Linked DNA regions of Homo sapiens: region 2 is linked to region 1. Evidence: promoter capture Hi-C in 16 types of primary human blood cells and fetal thymus (Javierre and others, 2016). All regions are on one chromosome and are shown on one strand. The core of a region is centred on a gene start or on the middle of the fragment in contact, and the rest is flanking DNA. Distances in the headings are between cores, read along the strand shown.

What was found. The method cuts DNA at HindIII sites, captures the fragments that hold promoters and counts their contacts. A CHiCAGO score of 5 or more calls a contact.
Region 2: a contact is called between a fragment that was not itself captured here and the fragment with the promoter of TMEM102 in region 1, in 7 of 17 cell types (total B cells, total CD8 T cells, naive CD4 T cells and 4 more). The highest score is 7.7, in total B cells.

The regions. Positions count from the first base shown.
Region 1 is chr17:7,433,203-7,440,209 of GRCh38, reverse strand. It overlaps TMEM102 (transmembrane protein 102), which reads right to left and starts at 4,775. Exons shown (of 3, transcript NM_178518.3): 1 at 4,514-4,775; 2 at 4,125-4,357; 3 at 2,531-4,016. The coding sequence starts at 4,338. The coding sequence ends at 2,704. It overlaps FGF11 (fibroblast growth factor 11), which reads right to left and starts at 698. Exons shown (of 5, transcript NM_004112.4): 1 at 397-698. The coding sequence starts at 589. RefSeq lists silencers at 497-596, 1,875-1,974, 2,946-3,225 and enhancers at 355-888, 1,142-2,050, 2,065-2,164, 2,961-3,870, 4,922-5,091. The HindIII fragment of the contact is 10,292 bases long and covers 1-6,355 here.
Region 2 is chr17:7,602,100-7,609,106 of GRCh38, reverse strand. It overlaps FXR2 (FMR1 autosomal homolog 2), which reads left to right. Exons shown (of 17, transcript NM_004860.4): 2 at 2,958-3,010; 3 at 3,369-3,462; 4 at 5,027-5,098; 5 at 5,202-5,350; 6 at 6,105-6,198. Among named protein-coding and RNA genes, the nearest start is that of FXR2, 9.3 kb to the left of the region's middle. The HindIII fragment of the contact is 4,908 bases long and covers 1-4,805 here.

The DNA of each region.
Region 1 (7,007 bases), core at 3,526-6,025:
AGCTGCAGAAATCCTTGGGGTGACCCAGGCATCTGGAAACCCCCGGGCCCCTCCGCTCCAGATTGAAAGAATCGCGAGAACCGGCACGTAGGCGGAGGACGATGGGGGTGGGGACTGCTGTGTTGGGAAGGGGGGACGAGCAGGAACTACGAGGCTTTCGGGGCGCCAGGCAGCCCCTCAAGCCTTCCCCTTGACCTCGAAAATAAGGAGACTCCGGGTTATGGACAAAAGAGAAGGGAAACTGAGGCACAGTCTGGCAGGGACTTTGTCGTCCTGGCCCACCCCCTTCCACTTTCGGGGAGCCCCTCAGCCGGGCCCTATTCTTCAGAGTCCCTGGCCTCAATCTCCCAGGCAGAGAAACCTCTGGCCGGGAGACCCCGCCCCAGCCGCACTCACCCGGGCCGCGGTCCGGCCGCGCGGGCCGCCCCCCGCACAGTCGCACCTTGGACAGCAGGATGAGGAGCTGCTTCTGGCAAAGGGACTTGGTGCCGCGGGGACACACGCGCCGCTGCGCCGACACCGGCCGGCTGCCCCCGGGCTCGCGGACCTCCCGCTTCTGCCGGATCAGGCTACTGGCCAGCGCCGCCATAGCGCCCCGGGAGGAGACACCCCCAAACCGGCAGGCGCCCGGAGCGCGCTGGGCTCCCCCAGAGGAGCCCGCTCACTAGGGCATGCTCTTGACGCTCAGGCCCCGACTCGCTGCCCCACCCACAGGACCTGAGGATAAGCCCCAGACCCCCCCCCTCACGTACCCCCCTCCACAGCAGCCAGTTACCACCCGTGGGCCCAGTGCTGGCTCCACCAGATCCAGCAGCCTATGTACTCCTCAGTGGATCCCACCCTCGAGTTTTGCCTCCTATTGAAAACGTCCCCTTTCCCTCCTCTCCAGTGTCTGTCCTCACTTCACCTATCCCAAAGCCAAGACCCACTAAATTTCCAAGACGTGGTTTAAATATCTTCAGGCACCTTTCCACTGTATTTTGGGGCACACTCCTGCCAAATCCACTCTTGTAATCTACAGGGTGTGGGACTTTAGCTTTGGGAATATTCGCTCATCCCACCCCTACTGGGGCACTGCCAATGTCAGGAAGGAACCCAACCTTGGTGTTTTTTCCTTTGCTACACTCTAAATGGAGGGGATCCCCCACTTTTTTCACTGAAATCCCCCCAAAATATGTCTCAGAATATCCAGGTTGCCCAGGTTCAGTAAGACAGGGCTCCCAGACCCTCTGGCTGGATAATACCTTTTTCACCAAGTCCCCCCCATGTCTAGTAGCATAGAATTCTAGCGGCCAAGACCCTTTCTTCACCTTCACACCCTCCGCTCCTTTTGAAGTCACCTCCAAATCCACCCTTCCTAGTGGATACACCAGGTAGTTGACTGGAGGGCCTTCCGCCACCTCAAAATGAGGAGCATCCGTGTTTGTTTTTGTTTTTGTTTTTTTCTCCCCTGGCTGCCCCTTAAATTTTCTTGGGGACAGCTGGTGCTGTTTAGATCCCACGCCCTCCAATCTAACCAGCCCCCCAAGAGAGGAGTGCACCCACGTTGTCACCAGTCCCCAGATGTGAACAGGCCCCCTACAAGTCAGAGCGGATCACAGCTTCCTGCTACAGGGCTTCCTCGTCCTCCCCGGGATTGCCTATAGCACCCCCTCTTCCTTTTCCCGACGCCCCTCAACCTGTCCTGTCCTGTTGATCCGGCGACGGGTGGCGCTGGCTTCGGCTCCAGGCTCCTCCCTCCCTGTCCCCCGCAAACGGAGCTTCCCCCCACGCCCGGCTAGGCGTCCCGGACCCTCGGGAAGGAGTGAGGGTGTCTCTGCAGAGCTCCCCGGTCCGGCGAAGTCAGAGCACTGGGCCGGTGGCTGGACCAGGCAGAGCGGCGGCAGCGGCAGCGGCTGTGGGAAGCTGAGGCGGCGGCGGCGGCGGCGACAGCAGTTCCCCCTCCTCGGAGAGCCGGCCCGGGGGCGGGGCAGGGGGCGGAGACGCTGGGAAATAGGAGGGTGAAGCCGGGCAGGAGGAACCCCGGGGTTCCTTGGAGGTAGAGAGTGCGGACTGTGTCTTACAAGCAGGCAAAGCCGAGGCAAGGCCGCACGTCTCAGCCTTCAGAGGAGGAGGGACAGGAAGGCCTCCTGAACGCACCCCTGGGTAGGAAGGAGAGGTTGGGCCTAAGGGAGATGGAATGGCGGACGCTGGGAGAAGGGAGAGAGACCCTACTGGCCGGGATGTTAGTGAAGAAAGAACCGCACGAGTAAAGTGGGGGAAGAACTGGAGAGATGGAGGATGGGGGGTGGTGAGATCCAGCCTTGGGCGAAATCCGGCCTCCTTCATATCTCTGCCGTTGTGTGAGCCAAATTGATCAGACCCTGGTCTCCATAACTCCTTTTCGCGTTTGGTCAGCAAATATGTTTCTCCCATTTCTATTGGCCCTTAAGAGAAATGACCAAAAGAACTGGGGACAGACGGTTTCTGGAAGCTGCCCCTGGGCGGAGTGCTGGCCACAGATGTGGAGAATAGCGAGGCTGGAATGGGGCAACTTGTGCGGGGGCAGGCGGGTGGGCGTAGAGGAGGAACCAACAGGGAGGTCTTCCAGAAGGGGGGCTTCAGGCCCAGGGCACACAGTCAGTCCCCCTGGCGAGGGGCGAGCAGGGCCCCCCACGTCCCGCTCGCCCACAGAGGCACTTTCCACTGGTAGGAACAGCGTCTTTAATGGGCCCCGCCCCCCACGCCCGCCAAACCGCCCCCCTTGCGGGCCACTTTGGCCTCCTCCACCGCGGCACGGAGGGCCCGGGCCGGGTCCCCGCGGAGCCGGGCCAATTCTCCGAGCAGCGCAGCGGAGTCGTCCCCCGTACGGAGCTGTCGGCCGTTCAGAAAATAGTGAGGCAACGTCCCGGCCTCGAGCACTCGGCCGAGCTCGTCTAGCAGCCCGAGGCAGCAGGCGCCCGCATTTTCTGGCCGCGCCAGGTAGAGCGCAGGCAGCCGCTCGCACGCCCAGTACAGCAGCGTCCGCAGGAGGTAGGGCGCCGCCGCCCGGGTCCCGGCCACCAGCGGGCGCAGTAGCGCCTGGGCCGCCGCGTGCGCCTGCAGCAGCGGCGCTGGTATGCGCGCTTTGAGCGCCAGCTCCTGGCGGGCAAAACAGAGCTGCCAGGCGGAGGCGCACGGCCGCTCGGTGCCGCCACCGGGCACCAGGTAGAAGGAAGCCGACTCAGAGGCCAGCGGACCGGCCCACGAGTGGCTCCGAGCCCCCTCGGGCCAGCCCGCCACGGACACCACTGGGATCAGGTCGAAGAGCAGGAGGCGGCGAGGGGGCTCAGGGGTAGCCAGGAGGACGGTGGTGAAACCCGCGTGGCGAGCTGCGTGCACCAGACGCGGAGCACCCGGGACAGGGATCAGAGACTCGGCGACCGCCGCCAGCGTAGCAAAGAACCAGGCAGCCACCTGGGCGGAACATAATGTGGGCCACGCTTCCCGAGCCTCCGACGGCTTTGGGACTGGGCTTTCGACGGCTGCCTTGGTGACGTCACTACTCATTGTTTTCAAAGGTGCGGTAGAGCCAAGGTCGACGACGTCATGCTGAGGCGACTCGGACGCTGAAACGTCACTAGGCGATTTTTCCAAAGACACCGGCGCCTCGTGCTCAGTGACGTAGCTGTGCGGCTGGTCTACAGAGCTTTGCCAGTCCTTGGAACTTTCTTCGCTCTCCGTTCGGTGGATCGAATCACGTGCTCCTGGGACTGGGGGTCCTAAGCAATCCTGCCACATCTCCCGGATGGGGGTTCCGCACACCATCTCTGGGAGGCAGACCTGTGCGTAACAGGATTCCAGGTCCAGTTGCAGTTCAGTGCCGTCCAGTGAAAACATGGGCACTAGGAGTGTGAAGCCGGCATCGTAGTGAGGTCCCCGGGCGTAGGGACCCAGGGGTGCATGCCCCAGATCCAGGGAGCCCTCGCGAATCCCACCACGAAGCAGCAAGAGCTCTGCCTGGGGAGGAAAGCGAGGGTCCCGGCGGTGAACTAGACCTAAAAAAAGGGAACGGATCGTGAGGGCGTCGCCCAAAGCCGGGGCGGGGGCGGGGGCGTGGTGAGGCTGAGAGCTGTGAGTTCCCAAAGGCAAGTAGGGTTACTTACCAAGCAAAGAGAAGACAAAGTCCTTGGCCCGGAGGAGATCGGCTCCCGGCTTGGGCCCGTCACTCCAGCTCTCCTGCACACCCAGCTCCTGGATCAGCTGGGTCAATTCCTGCAGCTGCGCCCCGGAGCAGAAGTCGATGTCCGTGAGCGGCCGAGCTGGGGCCGGGGGCGGCGGGCCCCACCAGGGGGCACTCCCCCAGACTGCGGAAGCCATGCGGTTCTATCGCTTTGGGCTGCGGAAAACACGGAAGGGAGGTGGCTTTGCTGCCACAAAGTCGTCCCCGTTCTTCCCTCTTCCTGAGGCCGAGCGAGTGCCCCAGACACAACCTACAAATGGGTCTGTAGATGATGGGTTCTAAATTTAGTCCTCAAAATGAACAAATAAATACCTCTTCTATCCTGGCCCTTTTCTCATAGGCAGGTCCCCGCCCCCATGAACTGGTTCACCGGACTCAGCAGGTAAAAAGTAACTGTTGGCTCCTCCTACGGAATGCAGTAGCCAGCCTCCGCTGCCGCCCCTTGTCTACCTCCCTTTACCTCTTTTTTGGAAGAGGCTTATTAGTCTGCGGCTTCCCCCTTATGGGAAGCAGTAAGGGTGGGGAGCAGAAATAGATTCAACAGGTTACTTCTTCCTGATGCCCACGTGGCCACGCCCCTACATTTTCAGCCACGCCCCTTTCTGGAGGCTGTCGAGGTGGTTTCCGCCGGGTCGGGTCGCCAGTCAGAGCTCAATCACTCTTTTGGCCCTGCTGAAATCCCGCGTTATCCTGGGAGTTGTAGTTTCCCGCTCTACTAGGGCGTGGTAGCCACGCCCCCACATCCTTTCCTGTTCCGCTGAAGTAGTGCCTGATGGAAGTTGTAGTTCCTCTGGAGACAGATTATTCTGTGTCTTTTCACACCCATATCAACCCCACTCAAACATTCCTTGGGGTTTGAGAGGGGTAATAGGATGGCTCTGAGTCGCAAAAAATAATGAGGGATGGGCCGGGCGCGGTGGCTCCCGCCTGTAACCCCAGCACTTTGGGAGACTGAGGCGGGTGAATCACCTGAGGTCAGGAGTTCAAGGCCAGCCTGGCCAACATTGCGAAACCCTGTCTCTACTAAAAATACAAAAATTAGCCGGGCGTGGTGGCAGACGCCTGTAATCCCAGCTACTTAGGAGGCTGAGGCAGGAGAATCACTTGAACCTAGGAGGGAAAGGGTGCAGTGAGCTGAGATTGTGCCATTGCACTCCAGCCTGGGTGATAAGAGCGAAACTCCACCCTAGGGCCTGGGGAGAGATAGGGACCCCTGCCTGGGTGGGGTGGGGGGGGTGCATCTTGGAATCCCAAAAGTGGTAGTGTTAGGCAGGAGCACACAGATGGTGACCCAGAAATGGACGTTTGACTCATAGGAGAGACATACATGTTAGTGATGCCCACCTCAGCTCACTGCTACCTGAGTCGTGGCAGGGAAAACACTTTGGGATCTCAAATTTTTGTTTTGTTTTGTTTTGTTTTTGAGACTGAGTCTCGCACTGTTGCCCAGACTGGAGTGCTGTGGCGCAATCTCCGCTCACTGCAACCTCCACCTCCCGGGTTCAAGCAGTTCTCCTGCCTCAGCCTCCCGAGAAGCTGGGATTACGGCGCCTGCCACCATACCTGGCTAATTTTTTGTATTTTTAGTAGAGACAGGGTTTCACCATGTTGGCCAGGCTGGTCTTGAACTCCTGACCTCAGGTGATCCTCCCACCTCGGCCTCCCAAAGTGTTGGGATTATAGGCACGCGCCACTGCACCCGGCCTGGGCCACGACTTCTTACATTCCTTCTGCCCTTGGTCTGTCTCCAGGACGGGATAGGCCTAAGTCCATGGATAAGATAATTAAGGAGGACATCTAGGAAAATTAGAGGCCTGTAAAAGAAGAGACTCCCCAACTGTAGAGATCAATTTGGCAAGCCCAGGACTCAGGGGTTCCTCGTCACTGACAGAGAGTTTTCTCCTTCAGCAACCAGAGCTGGGGTCCCTGGGAGAAGCGAGAGCACCAAAGCAGCCCAGAACTGCGCAAGTAGGTTCCCGTACACACACATCTGGCTGTGACCCAAGAGGCCAGATCAGGAGAACTGGAGACTGGGCTGTTTCTCACAGTCTGGAGTAACCAGGCATCAGACATCCCTGCATCTCACCTCCTTCCCAGAGGGTGGCTTCCGAGGCACTCTAAAAAGAACTAAGTTCTCTGGACTCTGTGGAAGCTTTGAAGATGTTAAGAATGGGTGACAAGGAATAGTTCCTCTAAACTCTAAAGCATGGCTCTCCAATATAATTTTCTGTGACGATAGCAATGTCCTGAGTTGGTCCTGTCTGATACAGTAGCCACCAGCAGCCACCTGTGGCTGTTGAGCACTTGAAATGTAGATAATGTGGCCAGGCGCCCTGGCTCACGCCTGTAATCCCAACACTTTGGGAGGCCGAGGCGGGTGGATCACTTGAGGTCAGGAGTTCGAGACTAGCCTGGCCAACATGGTGAAACCCCATCTCTACTAAAAAGACAAAAATTAGCTGGGCGTGGTGGTGCACGCATGTAATCCCAGCTACTCAGGAGGCTGAGGCAGGAGAATCGCTTGCTTGAACCTGGGAGGCAGAGGTTGCAGTGAGCCGAGATCGCGCCATTGCACTCCAGCCTGGGTGACAGAGCGAGACTCTGTCTCAAAAAAAAGAAAAAAAGAAAAAGAAAAAAAGAAAATGTAAATTAAAATTAAACAAAATTTAAAAATGTGTTCCGCAGTAACATCTACTTTTTTTTTTTTTTTTTTTTTTGAGACAGAGTCTTGCTGTGTCACCGAGGCTGGAGTGCAATGGTGCGATCTCGGCTCACCACAACTTCCGCCTCCCAGGTTCAAGTGATT
Region 2 (7,007 bases), core at 1,102-3,601, 170 kb before region 1:
CACGGTCTTGCTGTGTTGCCCAAGCTATGGAGTGCAGTGGTGCAATCACAGCTCATCACAGCCTCGACCTCCCTGGCTCAAGTGATCCTCCCACCTTAGCCTCCTAAATAGCTGGGACTACAGGCACAAGCCATCATACCCTGCTAATTTATAAATTTTTTGCAGAGATGAGGTTTCCCTGTGTTGTATGGGCTCTCTAATTTTTTTAAAAAACATCTTTATTGAGCTGAAATTGACATACAACAAAGTAGACATATTTAAAGTGTGCCATTTGTTAAGTTTTGACATGTATGTAACTGAGTCCATCACTGCAATCAAAGGAATGAACATTTCTGTCACTCCCAAAAGTCCTCCATCAACTACCAATCTTCTGTCATTATACATTAAATTGCCCTTCCTGATTTTCGATAGAAATGAAAAGGCAGTTCAATTCAGCTAAGAAAGGATAGTCTTGTCTTTTCTTTTCTTCTTTTCTTCTTTTTTTTTTTTTGAGGCAGAGTTTGCCCTGTTGTCCAGGCTGCAGTGCGATGGCATGATCTTGACTGACTGCAGTCTCTAACTCCTGGCTTCAAGTGATTTTCATGCCTCAGCCACCCTGAATAACTGAGGTTACAGCCATGTGCCACCACGCCTGGCTAATTTATATATTATTATTATTATTATTTTTTTTTTTTTTTAGTAGCAATGGGATTTTGCCATATTGGCCAGACTAGTCTCGAACTCATGGCCTCAGCTGATCTGCCAGCCTCGGCCTCCCAGTGTTGGGATTACAGGCGTGTGCTACCGCCCCTGGCCAGAAAGGATAGTCTTCAACAGACAGTGCTGGAACAAGATATCTTTAGGTAAAAAATGGGCTGGGCACAGTGGTCACACCTGTAATTCCAACATTCTTGGAGGCTAAGGCGGGTGCATTGCTTGAGTCCAGGAGTTCAAGACCAGCCTGGGCAACATAGCGAAACCCTGTCTCTATTAAAAAAAAATTTTAATTTAAAAATATATTAAAAATAAAAAAAAGTGGCCTGGTGCGATGGTTCATACCTGTAATCCCAGCACTTTGGGAGGCTGAGGCGGGTGGATCACCAGAGGTCGGGAGTTTGAGACCAGTCTGACGAACATGGAGAAACCCTGTCTCTCTTAAAAATACAGAATTAGCCAGGGTCGTGGCCCATGCCTGTAATCCCAGCTACTTGGGAGGCTGAGGCAGAATTGCTTGAACCTGGGAGGCGGAGGTTGCGGTGAGCCAAGGTTGCACCATTGCACTCCAGCGTGGGCAACAAGAGCGAAACTCTGTCTCAAAAAAATAAATAAGAATTTAAAAATTTAAAAAACATTGATCAATACCTCACCTTATATATAAAATTTAATTCAAAATGGATCATAGGCTGGGCACAGTGGCTCACATCTTTAATTCCAGCTTTGGGAGGCTGAGGCAGATGGATCACCTGAGGTCAGGAGTTCGAGACCAACCTGGCCAAGATGGTGAAACCCCGTCTCTACTAAAAATATAAAAAATTAGCCTGGTGTGGTGGCGGTTGCCTGTAATCTCAGCTACTCGTGAGGCTGAGGCAGGAGAATTGCTTGAACCCGGGGGGTGGAGGTTGCAGTGGGCCAAGATTGCGCCATTACACTCCAGCCTGGGTGACAGAGTGAGACTCTGTCTAAAAATAAAGGATTATAGATGTAAATGTAAAACAAAAAACTAAAAGTTTAAGAAGAAGACATAAGAGAAAACCTTTGTGGCCTTGGATTAGGCAAAGATTTCTTTTTCTTTTTCTTTTTTTTTTTTTTGAGATGGAGTTTTGCTCTTGTTGCCCAGGCTGGAGTGCAATGGCATGATCTTGGCTCACTGCAACCTCTGACTCTCAGGTTCAAGTGATTCTCTTTCCTCAGCCTCCCAAATAGCTGGGATTACAGACATGCACCACCACACCTGGCTAATTTTTGTATTTTTAGTAGAGACGGGGTTTCACCATGTTGGCAGGCTGGTCTCGAACTCCTGACCTCAGGTGATCTGCCTGCCTCGTCCTCCCAAAGTGCTGGGATTATAGGCGTGAGCCACTGTGCCTGGCCTGGGCAAAGATTTCTTAGATATGAAACCAAAAGCACAGTTGATAAAATAATAAATTCATAAGCTAGACCTTTTTCAAAATTAGAAATCCCTAATTGTATGTGAAAAATAGGGAGAAGGTAGAAAAATTGGGAGCATAGGGGTGAATGCATGGCTTTGGCCTCCTTAGTGAGGACACAGACCACAGGAGGTGGATCAGCTGTTCAGTCATCCCTCTTGCTCTTGTCAAAATATCAAGATTGGAGTCTTCCATAAATTTTATTATCCTTTATAAATTATCAGTGTCATTCTAGATTCAATTCTAGTATTAAAAAACCGATGTTTTTAAATTAAGTCTTAATTTTTCCTTCTGTAAATTGTGTTCATCACAATTTTGAACTTGTCTAGTGTTCCGATTATTGTCTTAGGACCCATGCATCAGGGCAGCGAGTCTGCTCAGATCTCTTGCTGTATTGCGGAGGTAGGCCCTTCTCTCTCGACAGATCCTCATGTCCTCTAGGTGTTCCAGGACAGCCTCACACTGTCTCATGGGATATTCTTAGCCTTGCTGAATGTTGTTGGTATTTTAATTGAACTCTGGCAGGCTGCTTAGCACAACAGGAGGCAGACAGATAGGGAGGCCCCTGTGGGAGCCTGAGTAGATCATTGGTTTCCAGGCTGTTCTGATGCAGGTGGTACATACACCTCTCCATGACAATATCATTTCCTTTCTCTGTTTGACTGCCCATATTCTTTCCCCAGTGCAGCCTTTCAGGCTGTCTCATTACACCACTTGTGTCCCTATCTAAAACTCAAGTTTAAGGTTTTGTGGTGTCTTATTCCCTTGATGGCTAAGGTGGAAGTAAAAGGTCATTTTATTTTTTTTGCTTTTTTCTAAAATCCATTCTAGGGCTTTGTGAAGGATGTCCATGAAGACTCTGTCACCATCTTCTTTGAAAACAAGTAAGACCTTGGGAATAGAGAATCCAGCATACTAGGTCCTAGAAGGAGAGTGGAGAAGAGGGGGCAGCTGAGTCCTATGAGGCATGTAATAGGTTGGGAGAGCTGAGGGTTTGGGTGGGAACTCATATGGATCCCAGGAGAGGAAAGGGCTGAGAATTTGGTGAGGGTGGGGGCATTTGACCCAGTATTTAGAGTCTAGAAAGAGATGGAAGACACTACTATGGAGCAGGGCCTGGGGTTTAGCCTCTAATTATCCAGATAGGTGGAACTCGCCCAGCTGAGGCAATAACCCTTTTGTAAAGAAATGGGCAACCATATCAGTCAGAGTAGCTTTTTCATATTATTGTTTCTATTATAGCTGGCAGAGTGAGAGACAAATTCCTTTTGGGGATGTCCGGCTACCACCTCCAGCTGACTATAATAAGGAGATCACAGAAGGGGATGAAGTGGAGGTAAGGGCTGTGGAGTACACCTTTCTAAATGTCACTTTTCCCCAGGATTCTAGGCTTTTCTCTGGTTGGTTCATGTTCCTTCCTCCCCAACTAAGCCATATCCAGCCATGTAGCCTATGGAAATGTAAAATGCAACAGTTCCCCTTTTATCACTGTTGTGATCAGCCAAACTCTCAGGAACATCCCCAGTTTCAGGCGATTTGCCTTCCATTTATGGTAACAACATCTAAAATCCAGTGCCCTCTGATTTTTTTGTTGTTGTTGTTGTTGTTGTTTTGAGATGGAGTCTTGCTCTGTTGCCCAGGCTGGAGTGCAGTGGCGCGATCTCAGCTAACTGCAACCTCCGCCTCTTGGGTTCAAGCAATTCTTCCACCTCAGCCTCCCAAGTAGCTGGGATTACAAGCACCTGCCATCATGCTCGGGTAATTTTTGCATTTTTGTAAAGACATGGTTTCACCATGTTGGCCAGGCTAGTCTTGAATTTCTGACTTCAGGTGATCCACCCGCCTCAGCTTCCCAAAGTGCTGGGATTACAGGCATGAGCCACCATGCCCTGCCGTCCTCTGATTTTAATTAGTTCCTTCCTCTGGTTTCTTGTATCCTTGGTTTAAGATACATCCCAGGCTGGATGCAGTGGCTCACACCTGAAATCCCAGCACTTTGAGAGGTCGAGTGGGGCAGATCACCTGAGGTCAGGAGTTCAAGACCAGCCTGGCCAACATGATGAAACCCCATCTCTACTAAAAATACAAAAAATTAGCTGGGCGTGGTGGCGGGCGCCTATAATCCCAGCTACTTGGGAGGCTGAGGCAGGAGAATCGCTTGAACCCAGGAAGTGGAGGTTGCAGTGAGCTGAGATTGTGCCATTGCACTCCAGCCTGAGCACCAAGAGCGAAACTCTGTCTCAAAAAAAAAAAAAAAAAGATGCATCCCAAATACCTTTTTTTTCTTTTTGAGATGAAGTCTCACTCTGTTGCCCAAGCTGGAGTGCAGTGGCGCGGTCTCAGCTCACTGCAACCTCCACCTCCTGGTTCAAGTGATTCTCCTGCCTCAGCCTCCTGTGTAGCTTGGAGTACAGGCATGTGGCACCACACCCGGCTAATTTTTGTATTTTTAGTAGAGGTGGGGTTTTACCATGTTGGCCAGGCTGGTCTTGAACTCCTGACTTCAGGTGATCAGCCCACCTCAGCCAAAGTCCTGGGATTATGGGCATAAGCCACCGCGCTTGGCCTCTTTTTTTTTCGTGGAAGTGGGGTCTCACTGTGTTGCCCAGATCGTTCTTGAACTCCTGAGCTCAAGAGATCCTCCCACCTTGGCCTTCCAAAGTGCTGGGATTATAAGCTTGAGCCACTGTGCCCAGCAGCCCCAAATATCTTAATGGTTGTTCTATTGTTTATGTTGCCCAAGCTGGTCTTGAACTCCTGGGCATAAGCAGTCCTTTTGCCTCAGCCTCCCAAAGCGCTGAGATTACAGGTGTGAGCCCCACCATGCCCGGCCTCCTCATCCCTTTCTTGATGCTTTTGGGTGGTCTTCAATATCTCTTTGATTCTCTACTTTTCTTTAGGTTTATTCTCGAGCCAATGAACAGGAACCTTGTGGCTGGTGGCTGGCCCGGGTGCGGATGATGAAGGGAGATGTGAGTGACTGGGAATGCCTTTGGAGAACTACTGAAACAAATATGTTATTCATAGAAAGTTGCTCAGGTCATCCACAACTTCTCCTTTTTTACCATGTGCCAGTTCTATGTCATTGAATATGCTGCCTGTGATGCCACCTACAATGAAATTGTTACCCTGGAGCGACTTCGGCCAGTTAATCCCAATCCCCTTGCAACCAAAGGCAGCTTCTTCAAGGTTACCATGGCTGTGCCCGAGGATCTGAGAGAAGCGTGAGTGTTAAGGATGGTGGGAATGAGGGCCCTCTTTACAGCCCTAATCTCTGGCTTTATTTCTCCCAGGCATCACTCCCACTTTGCAGTTTTCTCTGTTGTTCCCCTGGCCCTCTACTAGAGCCCTTCTTGCTAAGAAGACACTTAGTTTCTTTATTTTCCCATCCTTGTTCTTTAACTGTGGTCCCTCTTCTTTTCTTTTCCTTTCTTTCTTTTTTTTTTTTTTTTGGAGACAGAGTTTTGCTCTTGTTGCCCAGGCTGGAGTGCAGTGGCACAATCTCGGCTCACCGCAACCTCCACCTCCTAGGTTCAGGCGATTCTCCTGCCTCAGCCTCCCGAGTAGCTGGGATTACAGGCATGCACCACCACACCCGGCTAATTTTGTATTTTTAGTAGAGACAGGGTTTCTCCATGTTGGTCAGGCTGGTCTCAAACTCCTGACCTCAAGTGATCCGCCTGCCTCAGCCTCCCAAAGTGCTGGGATTACAGGCGTGAGCCACCGCACCCGGCCCAGTCCCTTTTCTTTTCTTATTTACTCAGCCCTGCTTCTCTGAATTTTTTTTTTTTTTTTTAATAGAGACAGGGTCTCACTATGTTGCCCATGCTAGTCTTGAACTCCTGACTTCAAGTGATCATCCTGCCCTAGCCTCCCAAAGTGCTAGGATTACAGGTGCAAACCACCATGTCCAGCCTCCCCCGAACTCTTCACTGTACTCTCTGCATTCTGCCCGCTGAGTACTTTTTTCCTCTGCAGCTGCTCCAATGAAAACGTCCATAAAGAGTTCAAGAAAGCCCTGGGAGCCAACTGCATCTTTCTCAACATCACAAACAGTGAGCTCTTCATTCTGGTGAGTTTATTCTGCCTGAATTTCACATAAGCCTTTTGAACATTTTTTCTTTTTCCCTTTTTAACCCTTTTGCAGAAAGAGAAGGGCTTAAATGTGCTTATATTTATTTGTCAAGAGGACTTTATTGCTCCTGACTCCTACAGGCCCAGGTAGCCCTACCTTTTTTTTTTCTTTTTTTTGAGACGAAGTCTCACTCTTGTCACCCAGGCTGGAGAACAATGGCACGATCTCGGCTCACTGCAACCTCCACCTCCCGGGTTCAAGCAATTCTCCTGCCTCAGCCTCCTGAGTAGCTGGGATTACAGGTGTGCGTCACCACGCCGGCTAATTTTTTTTTTTTTGAGATGGAATCTCACTCTGTCGCCCAGGCTGGAGTGCAGTGGCGCGATCTCGGCTCACTGCAACCTCCACCTCCCAGATTGAAGCGATTCTCCTGCCTCAGCCTCCCGAGTAGCTGGGATTACAGGCGCCTGCCATTGCGCCTGGCTAATTTTTTTTTGTGTTTTTAGTAGAGACAGGGTTTCACCATGTTGGCCAGGCTGGTCCTGAACTGCTGATCTCCTGATCCACCCGCCTCGGCCTCCCAAAGTGCTGGGATTACAGACGTGAGCCACCGCGCCCGACATGCCCGGCTAATTTTTGTATTTTTAGTAGAAACAGGGTTTCACCATATTGGTCAGGCTGGTCTTGAACTCCTGACGTCGTGATCCGCCCGCCTTGGCCTCCCAAAGTGCTGGGATCACAGGCGTGAGCCACCACGCCCGGCCTCTGACCCTTTTTTTTTAAACCTGATAATCATGTTGCCATCT